Linked DNA regions of Homo sapiens: regions 2, 3 and 4 are each linked to region 1. Evidence: promoter capture Hi-C in human tissues and cell types (Jung and others, 2019). All regions are on one chromosome and are shown on one strand. The core of a region is centred on a gene start or on the middle of the fragment in contact, and the rest is flanking DNA. Distances in the headings are between cores, read along the strand shown.

Evidence for each region. The method cuts DNA at HindIII sites, captures the fragments that hold promoters and counts their contacts. A contact is called where the count stands out against the background at its distance.
Region 2: a fragment that was not itself captured here is called in contact with the fragment with the promoter of AUTS2 in region 1 in 1 of the 25 tissues and cell types used here (lymphoblastoid cells).
Region 3: a fragment that was not itself captured here is called in contact with the fragment with the promoter of AUTS2 in region 1 in 1 of the 25 tissues and cell types used here (lymphoblastoid cells).
Region 4: a fragment that was not itself captured here is called in contact with the fragment with the promoter of AUTS2 in region 1 in 1 of the 25 tissues and cell types used here (dorsolateral prefrontal cortex).

What each region holds. Positions count from the first base shown.
Region 1 is chr7:69,597,078-69,599,777 of GRCh38, forward strand. AUTS2 (activator of transcription and developmental regulator AUTS2) reads left to right here and starts at 1,398. Exons shown (of 19, transcript NM_015570.4): 1 at 1,398-2,700. The coding sequence starts at 2,577. CT66 (cancer/testis associated transcript 66) reads right to left here and starts at 547. Exons shown (of 3, transcript NR_148927.1): 1 at 1-547. RefSeq lists enhancers at 568-647, 1,828-1,877 and silencers at 958-1,377, 1,398-1,477, 2,642-2,700. The HindIII fragment of the contact is 7,960 bases long and covers 1-2,700 here.
Region 2 is chr7:70,669,953-70,672,652 of GRCh38, forward strand. All of the region lies in intron 5 of AUTS2 (activator of transcription and developmental regulator AUTS2), which reads left to right. Among named protein-coding and RNA genes, the nearest start is that of GALNT17, 460 kb to the right of the region's middle. The HindIII fragment of the contact is 3,753 bases long and covers 1-2,700 here.
Region 3 is chr7:70,774,509-70,777,208 of GRCh38, forward strand. It overlaps AUTS2 (activator of transcription and developmental regulator AUTS2), which reads left to right. Exons shown (of 19, transcript NM_015570.4): 13 at 849-878; 14 at 2,595-2,666. Among named protein-coding and RNA genes, the nearest start is that of GALNT17, 360 kb to the right of the region's middle. The HindIII fragment of the contact is 3,112 bases long and covers 1-2,700 here.
Region 4 is chr7:68,541,144-68,543,843 of GRCh38, forward strand. No RefSeq gene overlaps it. Among named protein-coding and RNA genes, the nearest start is that of CT66, 1.1 Mb to the right of the region's middle. The HindIII fragment of the contact is 5,228 bases long and covers 1-2,700 here.

The sequences.
Region 1 (2,700 bases), core at 148-2,647:
ATGGGCTACTAGGGAGGACGAAGGGTTGGTGCCGTGGTGTTTATGTGCCTGGACAGAAAGTGAAGCGTATCCAAGAGGCTGCTGAGAGCGGGCTGTCGGTCTTTCTGATCCGTATAGATCAATTCCAGTGCCCTGAAAAACGCACAGCTATTTTACCCAGAGAGGCTGGTCGCTTTTGTTGATCGATTCTCGGCTGCAGTCAGCTCTTTAATACAACTTTTTATGAGCATCAGCCACATTGCGGCGGGAGGAGGGGCTGTGGTGGAAAAAGCAGGGAAACCGCCCCCCACTCCCAAAAAGTAAAGGAAGCCCGCGGGGCAGGGACTGCGGTTTGCCGGTCTAACGGGTCCTCGAGCTGGGGCGGCGGTCCCGGCCCCTTCGGCCCCGCCCCTCGCCCGCGGCCGCCTCCGAGGTTCAAGTTCGGCCCCCGGCTGTTAGGCCTCGCGCTCCCGGATCTGAAGCCGCCCGTGCGTCCCTAGGTCCCCCGCTGGAAGACGAGGCGGGAATCCCAGGGGTCATCCGGGCGCGGGGTCGCTCGTCCACGCACTGTGGTGCCACGTGGAGGAAAAGTTTCCAACTCTGCCAGTTGGTGCTCCCACTGCGCCCAGGCGGAGCAAAGGCCCGCGCTTTGGCACCCGCTCCCCGTTCTGTCTCCTCCAGTCGCGCCCCCTCCCAGGGACGCCCCCCTTGTACCCCTTCTCTGAATTCCCTTCTCTCCTCGCAGCGCAGGTAGCCAAGGGAAAACACCCTTGGGGGCTGGTGGGGCTTCCCGAGAAGGCGGCCTCGGGCCGGCCAGGGGTAGAGGATCCAGGGACAAGTGTCCCGAGGAGGATGTGGGGGGCGCGCGCGCGAAGTGGCCTGGGAGCAGGGGCCCACACGCGTCCCCGCTGCGACAGGCGGGATCCTCCGGCGGCTTCCACGCCCTGGCGCGCCAACTCTGCCCGGCCGCGGCCGACCCCACGCGGGCGCCCCCTCCACGCCCCCGCCCCCGCCCCCCTCACAGCTCCCCACCGCCCCCAGTGCGCAGGCCCGGCCGCCCCAGCGCGCATGCCCTGGGCTCGCGAGCGCGGCCAGCCCCCAGCCTTTTGCTTTCTACACACTCTACAACTGGGGAGGGGGCGGGGGAGGAGGGAGCCCAGCCGTCCACGTGATCCCGCCGGCCGGGGCCGCGGGGGCGGGAGCGCGCGCCGAGAGAGGCGCGGGGAGGGCGGGTGCGCGGGAGCGCGCGCACTCGAGCGAGCGAGCGAAAGCACGAACGAGCGAGCGAGCGAGCGAGCGAGCGGGCGGGCGCGGGGTTGGGCTGAGGCGGGCGGCGGCGGCGGCGGCGGCGGTGGGCTGGCCGCGGAGGGGGAGGAGCGGGAGCTGCGCGAGGCAGGCGGGCGGGCGGAGGATGGGGCAGTGCCCGGGCTCCCGCTGCAGCCGCCCGGGGACACGCCGTGCACCCTCCGGCTCGGGGCTTTCTCGGCGGCGGCGGCGGCAGCAGCAGCAGCGTTAGCGGCGGCGGCGAGAGCAGCGTTCCCGGCTGCGCTTCTCCCTCAGGCGGGGCGGCGAGAGAAGCGGCGGCGGCGGCGGCGGCACACCGGTGTCTCTCCCGCTGGAGATTTCTTTCTGCTTTCCTCATCGACTGACTGACTCACCCCCTCCCTTTTTTGAGGAAGGGTGACCTCTTCTCTGGGACTGGAAAAAATATTTTTGTGAGGAGGGGGGCGGGTGGCAGCGACAGGGTTTGCTTCTTCTCTTCTTTCATCTCCCTCTCCTCCCCCCTCGAAGACCGAAAAGCAAACCCCACAACTGCTCCAGCAGCATCCTCCTTCCCTTCCTCCGCCTCCCTTCTCCTCCGCCGCTCGCAGTTTCGCCCTCTCTTCCGCTAATGATTGCATTATTATGCTCCCCTCTCTGGGGGGTCTCGCCCCTCTTGGGTCGCTCCGGAGCCCCGGCCTCCCCTGGCTGCATTTCTTAAAAATTTGGGAGCCTGGGAGTGAGTTTTCTCCGAGGCGTGTGTGAGAGGCGGCGGGGGTGTTTTCCTGCGCGAGGGGCGGGTGAAGTTCATTGCCCCCACTTTTCCCGCGACCTTTTTCGGACCCGATTTTGGATCGAGTTGAGGGGGGCGCGGGCGTTTTCGGGGGGCGGGGGGCGCGGCGGAGAATGGCCGCGGGGAGGGCTCCCCGGAGCCTCCCAGTCTCTTGATCAAAGCATTCCGCTATTCTGATTTATTGCTTGCTTGGTGAGTTATTTTTTTTTCCTCTAAAGGAGACCTGTGTGTTCAGCCATTACTTTGCTCGGCGCTGCTCCCAGGCATCTCCGACCCTCGGTGCTGTGGGGAGCCCCACACTTGGGCTCCTCGCCTCTCGCCCTCGCTCCCCGTCCCTCCTCCCCTCTCTCCGCCCCTTCCCCCTTTTCTTTCTCCTCTCTTTCTTCCCCTCTCTCCCTTCTTTCGGCCGCCGTCTCCCCCGCGCCCTCCTCGGGGCGGAGGGAAGCCGTGAAGGGGGAGGGAGGGCTCGGTGTCAATTTTTTTTTGTGTGGCTGCGGCCGTAGCCTGTGGCGGGCAAGCGGGGAGACCCCGGCGCAGCAGAACCATGGATGGCCCGACGCGGGGCCATGGACTCCGCAAAAAGCGGCGGTCGCGGTCGCAGCGAGACCGGGAGAGGCGCTCCCGGGGCGGGCTGGGGGCCGGCGCGGCCGGCGGCGGCGGGGCTGGCC
Region 2 (2,700 bases), core at 115-2,614, 1.1 Mb after region 1:
AATATGATTCACATACTTGTAGAGTGGCCAAGGAGGGCCTTATTTTTTACTCTTCAACAAAACAGAGGTTTGGCGCTAAAACCACAAAGTAACGTTCACTGTAGGCGCACCTCAGGCACACCCCGTCCCTGCTACGCTACACGCTGCCTGGTCTCTGTAGACTGTTACTGTCTGAGGACCTCCTCTCACAAACACTTATTTAACAATGGCACTTTGGCTTTTTAATATTTTATTTGATTTCTGTTTTATGGTATTTTTAATTGAACCCTGTTTTAATTGCCTTTTCTGCACACCAAGAGCCTAGGTGGGGAAGGAAGGCTTACAAATGAAATGATTATTGTTATTACTTCCTTTCTTTCTGCAGCGTCTTAGTCAAATTATAAATTGATTCCATCCACATATTAGCCCCGATCCTCATATGCATGTGTCAGAAAACAGAAAGTGTTGAATAAGGAGGCTGAAAATTTTCATCTAGCTGAGAATAAGATTTGTCAGCATTATTACAGAGTGAGGAAAGGAAATTGGGGCTAAGTTCTTGCCGTCGAGTTGAGCAGAGTACTTGGTTCCGGGTGACACAGCCCACAGGTGGGCAAGGTTTCATAAACTGAGAGCTAGAAGTGGCCTAGAAAAGACATTTAGTCGCTCCCTCGTGTCCAGTCATAGCCCAGGGCAGACATAGTTTATCCTGCACAGCCTTGGCTGACACCTCCATAAATAAGGGGACCTTCCTTTACAGCTTTTCAGAGTCTCAAGGGCAGCTACACAGTTGCCCTTAGGATAAAAGAATAAACAACCCTCATCCCCTTAAACTTCTGCCCCTCTTTACCCAGTGCCCCCGCATCCTGTTTTTTGGAATTTGACCTATTTATGCCCAGGCACTGACTGCAGGGTTGACAGTAGCCACCCTGAAGGGGCCTTGGTAGGGAGTAACAAAACAGGCGGGGTGCGGTGGCTCACGCATGTAGTCCCAGCATTTTGGGAGGCCGAGGCGGGCGGATCACTTGAGGTCAGGAGTTCAAGACCAGCCTGGCCAACATGGTGAAATCCCATCTCTAATAAAAATACAAAAATTAGCTAGGTGTGGTGGCGCACGCCTGTGATCCCAGCTACTCGGGAGGCTGAGGCAGGATAATTGCTTGAACCTGGTGGGGGGATGGGGACACGGAGGTAGCAGTGAGCCAGGATTGCACCACTGCACTCCAGCCTGGGTGACAGAGCGAGACTCCGTCTCAAAAAACAAACAAACAAAAACAAACAACAAAAACCCAGATCTGGCACACACAGAAATGGCTTCTGGCCTTATTACACCCGCTGCCTCCCCAGCTGGGTATTCAGTGGGCAGCCACTCATAGCCTTCATAAAATGACTTAGATTTGATGCTTGAAATGAAAGCTTGTCAATCCTGGGTAACCGCTTGAAGAAAGGAACATTATCCCTTAAAAGGATAGCCCTAGCCCCTAGAATATCTTTCTCACCTTGGGACTTGCTAAAATAGAATTCCTTATTTCAAAGGCAGTAAAATGTTTTGAGTTCCTACTATGTGTAGTATGCTAGGCTAGGCACTACAGGCCAAGCAAGGCAAATAAAACTAGCCTCTTTCCCTATTCCCCTGCATTTCAGAAAAGACAACACATTTCAAGGCTCTGCTTTGCAAGAGACCAGGCACCACAGTTTCCTCCTATCAGCCTGGGCATGGCAAGTAATAACCCCCCCTATGAATGAAGAGGTTGCTGTGTTCAAAGAGGTTAATAAAGTGTCCAAGACCGTACAGTGTCAGTGAGGCAGGGAAGAAATCTGAAAGCTGGTCCCTGGCTAACCTGTCTCTTTGCGTTGTCAACCTGGAAGGAAGTGTCAGATGGTTTGGCGCAGAGCTCTGTCCTTGGGCCTGGCCTGTTTGCAACCTTTGCTTAGGTGAAAAGTGAGAGTGGAAGACACTAGATTGGAAGAAGACAATCAGGATACCAAAAAATATCCCAGCAGACTGAGGACCAGAACGAAAGCCGTGGCAGTGAGAGTGGAAGGGAGGAAATGAGCAAGAGGCACAGGGAAGACAGAGCAGCCTGAGGATTCGGTGAACTGGGTTTGGAGTTAGGGAGGGTGATGGCCTAGGTAAGACCACTGACAATCAGGAGGAAATCCCAATGAGGTCATCTGTAGATTGTTGATTTTTAAAGTGCCAATGGACAATCAGTGCCACACTCCACCAAATGAGTTGGAGATACAGAAGTGTAAGGCAGGAGGAGCTGGAGTCTTGGGAGCCCCCTACTTGGAAATTACAGCGGAAGCTGGGGAACTGGTGAGAGAGAGTCCCCCACTTCCTCCTTTCTAGACATTGAAGGGATACCTGAAGAATCTCAATATTAAAGGATAAGAGAATCCAAAGAAGGCAATATTACTTGAGAAACAAGAGAATAATAATAGTATTTTGTCACGGAAGCCCAGTAACAAAGGGAGAGACAGTCTGCCACTTCTGCAGAAAGAGACAGAAAGGGCCACTGTGTTTGTTAATTAGGAGGTCCTCGGCCAGAGACCTGCTAAGCTCATAAACGTTAAAGGCCAGAGTTACTCTCTTTGGGTGGAACAGCTCCAGGGCAGCTGAATAGATAATAGTCACTGCTTCCTCGAAAGGGTAGGACACATGATTTCTTTTTCTTTTTTTTTCTTTTTTTGAGACGGAATCTCACTCTGTCACCAGGCTGG
Region 3 (2,700 bases), core at 94-2,593, 1.2 Mb after region 1:
CCCGCTTGCCTGGGGTCAGGAAGTTATTGTACTGCACGGCTCTTTGGCCCTCTATTTTTAATGTGCTAGGGATCCTTTTGTACTCTAGAGCTAAATAAAATATCCATTATGCTTTGGTTATGTTGTTTATTCATAATTTATTACCACTGCCTGCTTCCAAAAAAGGAATCTGAAGTTATACGATAGATACAATCTTGCCTCATTGTTATTTGTAGTCATCTTTATACGAAATATGAAAAAATCTTTAACAATATTGTCTTTTTACCTACATAAGGGCAGTCAGAAATTGATAACCAGAGTTAGATAGAAGTTTAAAATGACTCAACTATGTAAGTATGTCATGATGTATAGTGAACTTCTGGAAAATGTCTAATAGCTATAAATAATGTAAAGTCATCAATGTAAGGGTATTGGTAAAGAGAGCCTAATTCTCCTGGATGGATGGAAAGGACACCTCTCCCCAGATACCAGTTAGTAGACAGCTTTAAAAGCCAGGGGTCTGAAGGCCATTCTCCCTCAGACCTACCCGGTGTGGTTTGGAGCTCAAAACAGTGAAACTCCTGGTGTGTGATGTGAGCAAATCATGTTGCCAGAGGGCACATTGCTATTGATTAAACTTGTACAGGGGCTTGTCAGCGTAGATGTACCAAGGCTTGTGAAGTGGGGGAGGGGACACTTGGCACTTTTGATAGTGTGAAAATGGGTTAATTATTCTCTAAAAGGGCTTCATTTAAAAGTAAAATTCTAACATTTTAATTTCCCCTCCTAATGAAGCACTACAAATTTGTTAATTAGAGCAATTGTTTGAGTGACAGGCATGTAACCAAGTTGTCATTTTCTCTTCACAGTTGACAGATCCTTTCAGACCTATGTTAAGGGTAAGAAAGCTTCTTATAGAACTGTTTTGCAACCTCTATTTGACTCCCTGTGGGTTAAAAATACAAGTCTATTACAAGGAAATAAGCCATAGAAATGTTGGAATAAGACATTGGAATGACGGTGATTGGGTTTTTCAGATAGTGTGATTGAAAATGGCCTAAACTGTTTTGCTTTGACCGTTGGAGGCCATTGGCTTTTTTTTTTTATCTCTACAACAGAGAAAAGTCAACGAGTCCGATCTCTTGTTAGCAGTTCTGGTAAAAGGTTTGACTAGTTGGAACTTAAGGGGAAAGACTGAAGCTATAGGCTGAAGTTAGTCTCTCTTGCACTTAGAAAATATGTAGCTGGGTCCATTTATTTTGGCTGGTGGCTCCCTCTTTCTGTAGTAAGTGACATTGACTTGCCATAGCCGTTTGACCTCCTTTTAAGGTGCAGGAAGGAGGTACTATAAGCATCTGGTTTGTTAACATCTTGCTTAAAGCAAATTGTTCTCGAGGTCTGGAGACTGGCCAGTGTGATGACCTCTAAATGAATCCTGGTGGTTGGGGGTAAGACAGACATGATGAATTGTTGGACAGAAGATGGATGGACAGCAGATTTCTTGCTATGCATAACTCATTTCTAGGGCACATAATCAGATAATTTGATTTCTCCAGGGGAAAAAGGAGAATTGTGTCATCACTTAGGTGAGGCAGTATATTATTTGTGATTTCAAACTACCCATAATTTCATTGCAAGAGAAGAGAACTGACCCAGACTTGCATTTAAGTATATATTTTCGGAACTAACTCCATACTGTAGAAACCAGAAGCTTCTGTTCTTCGCCGATGTAGAATGAGGCTGTGTTTTCTTCTCATCTGTCCAGTAGTCACTGAGCGCGCACGCCGAGCTTATGGGTAGATTACTTAGCAGAAATGAAGTGAAAAGGTGGTCCCTGCCCGCTGACTGGTAGAAGAGAATACACTCACAGCACTCCACTCCTTATAAAGCAAGACATGAAATAATTGGGGAGATGTGGATTCAAATTCAACCCCAGAGGGTGGAGGATGGACTTGAGATCTGCAGAGGCCTAGATAGAGAACAGGAAGGAAGGAATATTCTTCTCTTTGTTTCTTTCTTTAAACTTAGGAACAGCGCCCACCAACACGAATGGGTAGTTGACTCTTAGCATTTACGGTAACTGGGCTTCAATCAAAATGTGAATTTCTTTGTACCACTTTGGGGGTTAAAATAAAAACCACCACGGTCTTGGGGGAGGTTAGGACAGGTTCTGTACCCTCTCTTATTTTGATTTGACTCACAGACATTCACTAATGAGCTCTTCTGAACAGCTGATTTGCATTATAGCATGGCAACATTTGTTAAGTAGGGCTTCCCACTCTACCAGGTCTGCCAGCTGGCAGCAGAAAAGAAAGAGAAGAGGCACAGAGTGGGATTCAGGCTTTTGCCGTCTTGTCCTTGGTAACCGGGGAGGCCCTTGTCAATGTGGTTTTCTGAGTAGCAAACCCACGTGGGGAGAGAGGGGGAGCTGGCTGTGACTCCCTTATGACTGGGCGCTGGAGAGCTACTGATGGAAGGCACTTGGAGAGTACAAAGCACTCTTGTTTCACGAAAAAAGCCTCTGCAGCCAAAATCTGCTGAAAGCTTTGGGGAAATTGAAGGTGGTTTTCTCTGAAATGTCTTCCTCCTAACCACGTTGCTCTTTCTTGTTCCAGAAACCAGGGAAGTGGTGTGCTATGCATGTTCACATCGCCTGGCAGATTTACCACCACCAACAGAAAGTCAAGGTCAGTCCGACCTTCGTGGTGTAGGGAAGAATGG
Region 4 (2,700 bases), core at 142-2,641, 1.1 Mb before region 1:
TTATCCATGTGTTCTCATCAGAACGGGCAGTATTTGGTTTTCTCTTCCTGCATTAGTTTGCTAAACATAATGGCCTCCAGTTCAATCTGTGTTCTTGTAAAGGACATAATCCTGTTCTTTTTTATGGCTGCATAGTATTCCATGGTGTACATGTACCTCATTTTCTTCATCCAGTCTATCATTGATGGGCACTTAGGTTGATCCCATGTCTTTGCTATTGTGAACAGTGCTGCAATGAACATATATGTGCATGTGTCTTTATAATAGAATGATTTATATTCCTTCGGGTATATACTCAGTAATGGGATTTCTGGGTTGAATGGTATTTCTTTCTTTAGGTCTTTGAGGAAAGATCACACTGTCTTCCACAATGGCTGAAATAACTTATGCTCCCACCAACTGTGTAAGCATCCCTTTTTCTGCACAACCTCACCAGCATTTGTTATTTTTTGACTTTTTATTAATAGCCATTCTGACTGGTGTGAGATGGAATCTCACTGTGGTTTTGATTTGCATTTCTTTAATGATCAGTGATGCTGAGCTTTTTTTTCCATATGATTGCTGGATGCATGTAAGACTTCTTTTGAAAAGTGTCTGTTCATGTCCTTTGCCCACTTTTTTATAACCCACCTTTTTTTTAGGCTTTAGAACATCTTAGTAGACATCAGGTAAGAAGGGAAATTCATGAGGATATGCATAAACTGCAGTTATGCTTGGAATTCTCTTGCTAAAGTTATTTGTGGAGATAGTCCTTGAATCTTAAGTACTTACTTAATTAAAATATTCACAGCTACCATAAGAATTAATATTATTTCTCAGAATCACTCCTGGGAAATACATTCTCAACAAAAAGTTGCATTTTGGTAACCCAATATCAATAGACCACAAAGAAACACAATTTAGATATTTATCCAGTTCTTGTCTCTCTCTCTATTAAATAGAAGTACTTCATATTAGAGAGAACCACACCATCACATTCACAGTAGACAAAAATGGATGTCTATGGTCTCTGTTCTCTTTTGCCAAGGTAAATTTAGCTGTAGCTAAATTTATTTGAATCCAGGCCATGCAGTTAACATGATATCTACACCCAGACTGGATAATCAACCATGACTGTTCACATGAAATCCTGGATAAAGGGGACATTAAAACATGTTAGCAATGAAGAATGCAACAGTGAATTCTAAATGACAATTCAACAGTAAATTCTGAAGGACAAAGAGATCTAAAAGGAATAGATGGTGGGGAGGGGACAGGAGCTATGAAAAAAATGGAGAATGGATGAGGCAGTGATTTGGAGCTGCCCTGCAAACATGAATGAGAAATTGCTCAGAAAAAGGCACACCTGAAAGCGTGGGAAGACTAAAGCTTCTCGTAGGTGTAATTATAAACATGCTAAAATGCAAGGTTAGGTATCAGTGAGCTGGTCATCATACCTCATCACAAAGAAAAATGAGTTTTGCCATGTTGCCTTCCCAGTGCTCAGCAAAGGATGGCTGTAGTGACACCTTTCATGGTCCATGCGGGCCCCCATAATTAAAAGGTTGAATTAGTCATGTAAACAAATTATCTCACACAAAGGGGTTTACAAATGCTGGCTAATTAGTTTAAATTCCCCAAAGCTTTCCACTGTTTTTAATTCAATAACACAGTGTAAATTCTCCAGTTAGAAAAAGTCTAATAGGAATTGGCAGAAAACTAAATAATTGATATTGTCAGCAATTGCAGCAAGCAAGTACTCCAGTGTTATTGTTTGCCAGTGATTTCCAGAGAGGATAAAGCATGAAGTTTAATGAATTAACAATATAAGCCGTAGACAGCTGGTACTCAACAGCCTCTCCATAGGCTCAGCCTCTGGCTGAGAAAAATTCTAAAGTAGATATAAATAGACATACCTCTGACTTGGATTATAACAATGTATATCATAGCAACCAGAGCTTTAATGAACGGCTTGGAAATGGTAATGAGCTAGCTGTGTGACATCAGCAAATTACTTGCCATTTCTGAGCCTAGCTTTTCGTGATCAGTACAAACAAGTGTCCTGAACTAAATTAACAGTAACAACTCTAGAACCTCCAGATTCTTAGGAGTTACAGATGGCAAGAGGAAGAAGCTACCGTTACTTTCTGTGTTTCAAAAGTATCACGAACACTGCATATTTACCCATCATGAAAAAGAGTAGGCAAGTTCTTTAAATATAGCTTGATCAGCTCAGCTTTTCTTTAGGATTTAGAACATCTTACTGGATATCAGGTATGGAAGAAAATTCTATGAGGATATGCATGAACTGCAGTTAGGCTTGGAATTCTCTTGCTAAAGTTATTTGTGAAGACAGTCCATAAATCTTAACTAAGTACCCAGTTAATTAAAATATGTACAGCTTGTCCAGGCACAGTGGCTCACGCCTCTAATTTCAGTGCTTTAGGAGGCCGTTTGAGACTAGCCTGGGGAATATAATGAGACCTCATCTCTACAGAAAATAAAAGAATTAACCGGGTATGGGTGCAAGCACCTGTAATCCCAGATACTTGGGAGGCTGACGGGGAGGAGGATAGCTTGGGCCCGGGAGTTCGAAGCTGCAGTGAGCCGTGCTCATGCCACTGCACTCCAGCCTGGGCAACAGAGCATGACTAAAGAATAAACAAAAAAACAAAATGTACAGCTATCACAAGAATTAATATTAATTTTCAGAATCACCCT